2 separate regions of the Homo sapiens genome follow, and region 1 is linked to region 2. The links are contacts of gene promoters, found by promoter capture Hi-C in human tissues and cell types (Jung and others, 2019). All regions are on one chromosome and are shown on one strand. The core of a region is centred on a gene start or on the middle of the fragment in contact, and the rest is flanking DNA. Distances in the headings are between cores, read along the strand shown. Region 1 overlaps EIF4H (eukaryotic translation initiation factor 4H). Region 2 holds the start of BCL7B (BAF chromatin remodeling complex subunit BCL7B).

Region 1 (3,892 bases), core at 985-3,484, 630 kb after region 2:
ACAGATTCTGAGTGAATAGGAGAGAAGCAGTTGTCTTAGGAAGGTGTGTTACGTTTGGGCTGGGCATGGTGGCTCACACCTGTAATCCCAGCACTTTGGGAGGGTGAGGCAGGCAGACCACCTGAGGTCAGAAGTTGGAGACCAGCCTGGCCAACATGGTGAAACCCTGTTTCTACTAAAAATGCACAAATTAGCCAGGTGTGGTGGCACATGCCTGTAATCTCAGCATCCTTAGGAGGCTGAGACAGGAGAATCTCTTGAACCCGGGAAGCAGAGGTTCCAGTGAGCCAAGATTGTGCCACTGCACTCCAGCCTGGGTGACAGAGTGACAGTCTGTCTCAAAAAATTTTTCTTTTCCTTTTTTTTTGTTTCTCCAGCCATTCTCTGTAACAGTCTTGTGGTACATCGAGCAGAGTGCCTCACCTGGGGCGCTGGCGGCGTAGCTCAGCGGAAGACCGCTTTACTTGTTTTGCTTATTCCACTCTGGGCACACTTGAATCCTGTTTGTCTCCCCTCCTAGGTCCCGCGGCAGTGCTGGTGGCCATGGTTCCCGTAGCCAGAAGGAGTTGCCCACAGAGCCCCCCTACACAGCATACGTAGGAAATCTACCTTTCAATACGGTTCAGGGCGACATAGATGCTATCTTTAAGGATCTCAGCATAAGGAGTGTACGGCTAGTCAGAGACAAAGACACAGATAAATTTAAAGGTGAGTTTGGGGGATTCTTATTGTATATTACTGTAAAGTGTAGGGGAGGATGGGAAGGGGTTCTAAATAAAAATAGATTTGTGAACCAGAGGCTGTAATCAAGAAAGTGTTTTAAACATTTGCCTGGTCTAAGTGGCCGAAAGAAACATAACTCTTCAACTCATAGGTCTTCAGTTCACTTAGGGGAAAATGTTTTGTACACAGTGTAGTTCATAGAAATACATGGCATATGCCCAGGTTTGTGAGCCTGACCTCTACAGCAGTCCTGTCTGCCAGTAAAGGAGTTCCCCAGGAGAGAGAGGAATAGAGCCGAGGACTCTTAGGCACATTCCTCCTGGAATGACTCGTAGATTTTCCTTGGTAGTTAATCCAGTAATCATATGGTACTGTCATCCAGTAATCATAAAACCCAGAAGAGAAGCAGCCAGTGCTGTCAGTATGCATTTGTAAATTTGGAGAGTGTGCTTGGGAGGGCTGGCTGAGATTTCAGATATGGTGTCTATAGGTCGTGTGTCTGCAGGGTGCGGGAGCAAAGAGCAGGAAGAAGAAGGGATCCGAGCAGCATTCTCCTGCCTGCAGGGCTTCCTGAAGGAAGTGTGCCTGCTGTGTAAGTGCACGATGCTAGGACCCAGGATGTTTGGCCCGCATAATCCACCCAAAAGCACATCTGTGACAAGTATGGGGTAACTTGGGGCGGGGAGCTGTGCCAGCAGTCGAGAAGGCCTTGCTGACCTGGGTGGTTTTGTGTGTCGGTGGCACTCTTACTCTTTTTGACTTCAGAATCTGAAGCCACATGTAGTGTGTAATCAAACAGTGAAAACAAATATATCAGTTACACTTGTGAAGTAAGCTCCAGGAAGCATTAGGAACTAAACTTTGGGTTGGAGTGTGTGGGTGAGCCTAGCCTTTGGGCTGGGTCAGTCGCTGCAGGCTTTGGAGTTTGGCTCATGAAGGACCATCTTCATTTGAGCAGCTCTAGAAGATGAGATTGGGTGTCTGTTGCTTCTGTGAAGTTGGGGGTAGTTTTCTCCATTATTCTCAACATTGAATCCACTTAGGGAGGAAACCTGGGGGGACATCCCTCCAGCCAAGGCAGTATGTTCTTAACACACAGTTGGTAAACAGGGAAAGTTTGGACTCAGGCCTTTAGAGCACTTGCGGTCTAGTGGGCTTCAAAGATGAAGTGTGATTATTAAGTTATTATACACAGGGCAAGGACGCTGGGGGAGAGGGGATGCAGGGTGTAGTGCCAGCATCTGGGGAGTAATGAACTAGATTTAGACTCCAGACAGCAAGGAAGGGGCAATGTCAGACCCCTGGCATCAGGGACACAGGTTGTCAGTAACAGGTACTTGGACCCAGGCTGCCTGTCTTTTAATTAACATTCAGAGAAGAATGCCCTGATTGCCAAGGATATATTTTCAGCTTTGTGAAGCAAATTTTATGTCAGTTACCTGAGTAGTAAGTTAAATCGGCACTTTAAGCCTCTTTCTTCAGAGCATTTTAGGTACCAAGTTTGAAATCTACGAAATCTAATCCTCACTTAGATTAAATAGTCATTCAGAAGTCAGAAGAGCTCTGCAGATGGCCTGAGAAAGGTTTGAATATTATGGTTAAAACATTCAAGAAGAAAGCTTTCTAGAAACGCAGCTGCTATTTCAGTGCATGTTCAGTTAGCATTTTCTGACTGATAAAATAGAATTGAGAGGGAGGAATGCCAGTCAGGGTTCTATCTATTGAAAGGCTCTCCTAGTCTGCCATCATCTAGACAACAGAATGGTAGTTGTGACGTGGAGAAGTAGTATGAATAGGATCTTCCCACATCTTTAACCCAGAATTACTTGAGGAAATCGGGGTCTTCTTTTCTTTTCCAGGATTCTGCTATGTAGAATTCGATGAAGTGGATTCCCTTAAGGAAGCCTTGACATACGATGGTGCAGTAAGTATCCTCGGGTTTTCTCTGTCATAGCAGTTGAGATTGTTTTCTTTGCCAATACTTACACTATTTTCCCTTTATCATTAGCTGTTGGGCGATCGGTCACTTCGTGTGGACATTGCAGAAGGCAGAAAACAAGATAAAGGTGGCTTTGGATTCAGAAAAGGTGGACCAGATGACAGAGGTGATTGGTTCTTCTAAAGCTGAACATCATAAAGATTTGCAGTATGCCTACCAATTCCAACTCGTGAACGTTCCTAGTAGAACTCGATTATCTCATAGGTGTGATAGGTTCTCGTGAGCTCTTAAAAGTTTGCGTAAAATCCTAGAAAGAATGGCTGATGCTTCTGCAAGCCTGGCGTTTTTTGTTTTCTGTTGGAAGCAAAAGCTCTTAAAATGATTTCATTGAACCTTCCATCACTTGAGTTGTATGTCTTCCAAATGAATTTTTCCATGTTTGCGCAGCAAGGTAATGACACGACCTCAACTTTATCTTTTTTGTGTATCCTCAGGAATGGGTAGCTCTCGAGAATCTAGAGGTGGATGGGATTCCCGGGATGACTTCAATTCTGGTATCAGTATTTAAAGTATCACCACTTAATTTTTCCTAGGAGCCTTGCTGCTGTTCTCTGTTTCTTACGAGTAGCCCGCCTGGCCGGACTACTTATTTAGTTCCTTTAACAAATACAACTCTCCTGCAGGGTGCCCAGGCATGCAAGTAAGCCTCTGTTAGAGCCTGTGGGGGCAGGACTTGAGCCCCATGCACCTTGTGTGGTCACCTTTGTTAGCCTGCAGCTCCTTGGATGTGTACGGGCCTGGGTCCTTGAGCTCGCTCAGCAGTCTTTCTCAGACTCTAGCCCAGGGAAACTCCTCTGTGGTTTTGTGTATGGCACCAAGAGAAGTACTGTTCCTTCTGGAAAACATAGGATAGAGGTTTGGGTTCTTACATGGTGAAAGGTAGTCCTGATGGCCCTTTTTTTTCTTGGAGGATTGTGGGGAGGTCCAGTCCCTTGATGGTGGACCTGATGCACTTCGCCGTTCTCTTTCTTAGCCAACCCAGGCAGAGCAGCTGGTGGTATAGCACAAAGCATCAGTCCACACGCCAGGCCTCTGCCCTGCAGGGTGATTTTAAGCATTTTTATCATCTTTACTTTCTGTTTTTAAATTACAAAAGTATAATTTTTTATATATGCACATGATAAAAACTTCAGTTGTAACCCAGAAAGGTAGGAAGAGAAAAACAAATTT
Region 2 (4,034 bases), core at 1,524-4,023:
TTTCTCATTTATTCAACCAATTAGTATACAACAGGCTGTGCTAGGCCCTGGTGATGCAGGGAACAAGATCCACAGTCCCTGCCCTCACAGACCCTGTCTTATATCTGGAAACAGACATGAATAGCTCAATTCAAGATTAGTCACTTAATCATCAGGTTCAACCATATCAAATTGCCATTTTTGTAGGTTAATTAGTCAAATACAGGAGGCCAGGCACAGTGGCTCACATCTGTAATTCCAGCACTTTGGGAGGTCATGGTGGGAGGACCACTTGGAATTCAGGAGTTCAAGACCAGCTTGGCCAACATGGTGAAACCCGGTCTCCACAAAAATACAAAAAATTAGCTGGGTGTGGTGGTGTACACTTATAATCAGCTACTCGGGAGGCTGAGGCAGAATTGCTTGAACCCGGGAAGCAGAGGTTGCCGTGAGCCAAGATCGCACCATTGCACTCCAACGTGGGTGACAGAGCAAGACTCTGTCTCAAAAAAAAAGAAATCAAATATAGGAAATGTCTTATGAGTCCATCTAATACAACTGTGGAAAGGTCTATGAAGGAGACTTGATCTAGATTGGGAATCTCAAGTGGTAAACCTAAGGAAGCAACTTTTGAGCTGAGCTAGGAGTTAACTCGGCAAGAGGGAGGAGAGGAGAGAGGAAGAAGAATGCCAGGCGGCAGGAAGAGCAGAGTGACTTCATTGGTAAGACAGCGGGCATCCTGGGAAAGAGCCAGCCAAGTGAGGCAGGAAGGAGGGCCTTCTTCAGTATTTATCCTAAAAGCAAGAAGGGAACCACTGAAGCATTACTAGGGGTGCTAGGATAAGATGCACATTTTATATATTTTTTTACAGATGGGGTCTCACTGTGTTGCCCAGGCTGGAGTGCCATGGCATGATCATAGTTCACTGCAGCCTCAACTCCTGGGCTCCAGCGATCCTCCCACCACAGCCTTCCAAATAAGGCTGTGCACTTTAAAAAGGTCACTCCGCTACTCGGAAGAGAGAAAAATAAAATCACTCAGTGCAAATGAACAGACTGGGGAATGAGCAAGAGCAGAAGCAGAGAGTTTACAGGGAGGCTGGTACAGAGTTCCAGGTGACAGGGGATGGCCCTTCAGCCTAGCCTGCTAGGGGCGGGGGGGTCAAAAATGGGGAGAAGAGAAAGGTGTACCTGTTCTTAGGTTTCACCAAAACCTCGGAGGATTAAAGGTGGACGAGGAAAACCATGAGTATGTTAAACTAATATTTATACTGAAACCCAACTATATATGAAGCCCTCAGACATAAAAAAGAGAAGGAACTTCCCTCTTGTGGGGAAATGGACAGATAAACACACAAATAAAGTCCAACGTACCAACGACCTTAAAGGAGGTAAAGGGATGGGAGGAGTTAAGGAAAGCTTCCTGGCGGGAGGTAACATCTACTTGAACTTTTATTTTCTGTAGAGACGGGGTCTCACTATGTTGCCCAGGCTGGTCTCAAACTCCTGGCCTCAAGCGATCCGCCCACCTCAGCCTCCCAAAGTGCTGGGATTACATGCCTGAGCCACCTCACCTAGCCAGACCTGGGTTTTTAAATTATTAGTAGTAATTGGCTATACAAAAGAGCTGACGAAGTTGGCTGTGAAAGTTTAATGTGATGACTCCGATACACACCGATATAGTATGTATCGGAGTTCCGGATACTAAACAGGGGCTCAATCGGCATCTTCCATGAACATTTTAGACACGGGGTCTCTCTCCGTAGCCCAGGCTGGAGTGCCGTGGCACGATCATAGCTCACTGCAGCCTCCAACTCCTGGGTCCCAGCAATCCTCCCACCACAGCCTCCCAAGTAAGGATGTGCACTTTAAAAAGACCACTCTGCTACTTGGAAGTGAGAAAAATAAAATCACACAGTGCAAATGATGAACGGACTGGGGAATGAACAAGAGCAGAAGCAGGGAAATTAGAGGGAGGCTGGTACATAGTTTGCAAAGGACTCTCCTGACAGCCGCCGGGGCAGCAAGAGAAAATGCCTACCAAGCTCGCGGCGCAGGGGCCGGTTACTGGGGGAAAGGGAGGGGTATCCCTCTGGATGACACCAGGCTTGCTCCCTTGACAGATGGACTAACCCAGAAACTCACCCAACTTCAACGCCTGAATACGCAGAGCGCTCAGCCTGGCGGGCTGACACCACTCCAGGGCTACTCGCTATTATCAAGAGGAAGCCTGGAAACGCAGGCGGGGCCACTGCCCAGGAAGAGGGGAGGGCGGGCCCCGGGCTGGGCCGGGCGCGGGCACCGACGCCAGGCAGCTCCAGTCCGGGCCGGAAGCCGGAATCCCCTCCCAGGCGGCGCGCGGCAGCAGCCGCAGCAGGTGGGCGGGCCCGCGAGCCGGGAGGACCGCTGATTGGCCGCGGCCGGCGCGCCCTCTGACCTCACGCCGACGCCAGCGGCGCCCTCCTCCCGCCTTCTCCCGCACCCCCCTCCCCCAGCGCCGGCCGGTCGGCTCCCACCTGACCCGCCAGTCCCACGCTCCTCAGGGCCTGGATCCGCGACCCCCGCCAGCCCCCTAAGCTCCGGCCCCTCACCATTTCCGCACTTTCTCGATGGCCGCCATCACCTTCTTGATGTCGTCCTTGGCCCGGCTGCGGGTCTCCGCCCGGACCGACCGGCCCGACATGGCGGCGGCGGGAGCGGCGGGGGCCGGGGCACTGCTCCCAAGACACCGGGGATCGCGCGCCTCACGCGCCGCCGCCCGCCCGCCGCCGCCGCAGCGTCACAGCGGCCGTCGCCCCCTCCGTGCGCGCGTGCGCGAGAAAGCGCGCGCACCCGCCCGCCCCTTGGGGCTCACGGCCTCAGCGCGCCTGCGCGCCCCGCCCGGGGCGTCCCTCCTGAGTGCCCCGGGAGTCCCCTGAGCCCCCTACCCGGGCCGGGGTGCGAGGCGGGTTGGGCGCACGTGCTTGTGGTCAGGGCGAGGTGCGAGGTGCCGCCGGTGGGCAACCTGGTTCTCTTCCCTGAGAGTTTGGAGGTCGGCTCCCTGCTCTGGCCAGCGTGTTAGGAACCTGACCCTGTGGAACCGCACTCCTGCGCCATCTCTGTCCTCCCGCCTCTCCTGCCCAGCACCTTTGCCCTCTGGCTCCTACGCTGTGCTCCAACCACGCCTTTCTTAAGGATGGCTTCCGGTCTTTGCACACACCTGTTCCTCACCTGGAATCCCCTCCTCTCTTTACCAGATGAACTGCTTTCCCAGCATTCAGACCACATTCTTGCCTTTTCTCGAGTATCTAGTAGTCCCAAGTATTTGGGAGGCTGAAGCGGGAGGATCACTTGACCCCAGGAATTTGAGGCTGCCGTCAGCTATGATATGATCGCACCTGTGAATAGCCACTGCACTCCAGCCTGGGCAACATATGGAGACCCCATGTCTAAACGAGACCCCGTCTCTAAAGTAAATAAATAAAAAGATGTCTATTTTGTGCAAGACTCTGTACCTAAAGCTGAAGACATACGTGGTTTTGGTTTCAAAGAGCTTCCAGTTTGTTTATTTATTGAGACGGAGTCTCGCTCTGTGACTCAGGCTGGAGTGCAGTGGTGTGATCTCCGCTCACTGCAACCTCCGCCTCCCGGGTTCAAGCGGTTCTTCTGCCTCAGCCTCCTGAGTAGCTGGGATTACAGGCGGGTGCCACCACGCCCAGCTAATTTTTGTAATTTTAGTAGAGACGGGGTTTTATCATGTTGGTCAGGCTGGTCTGGAACTCCTGACCTCGTGATCTGCCCGCCTTGGCCTCTCAAAGTGCTGGGATTACAGGCGTGAGCCACCACGCCTGGCCTTTTTTTTTTTGAGACGGAGTCTCGCTCTTTTGCCCAGGCTGGAGTACAGTGGTGTGATCTCGGCTCACTACAATCTCCGCCTCCCGGGTTCAAGCAATTTTCTGTCTCAGCCTTCCGAGTAGCTGGGATTATAGTCGTCCGCCATCACACCCAGCTAATTTTTTTATTTTTAGTGGAGATGGGGTTTCACCATGTTGGTCAGGCTGGTCTTGAACTCCTGA

The links. Contacts are between HindIII fragments. The study calls those that stand out against the background at their distance.
Region 1: a contact is called between a fragment that was not itself captured here and the fragment with the promoter of BCL7B in region 2, in 1 of the 25 tissues and cell types used here (aorta).

The regions. Positions count from the first base shown.
Region 1 is chr7:74,187,091-74,190,982 of GRCh38, forward strand. EIF4H (eukaryotic translation initiation factor 4H) reads left to right here. Exons shown (of 7, transcript NM_022170.2): 2 at 521-708; 3 at 2,583-2,647; 4 at 2,732-2,828; 5 at 3,157-3,216. Among named protein-coding and RNA genes, the nearest start is that of MIR590, 2.2 kb to the right of the region's middle. The HindIII fragment of the contact is 6,566 bases long and covers 1-3,892 here.
Region 2 is chr7:73,554,917-73,558,950 of GRCh38, forward strand. BCL7B (BAF chromatin remodeling complex subunit BCL7B) reads right to left here and starts at 2,774. Exons shown (of 6, transcript NM_001707.4): 1 at 2,571-2,774. The coding sequence starts at 2,662. RefSeq lists silencers at 2,110-2,559, 2,580-2,629, 2,650-2,759, 2,810-3,049. The HindIII fragment of the contact is 6,991 bases long and covers 109-4,034 here.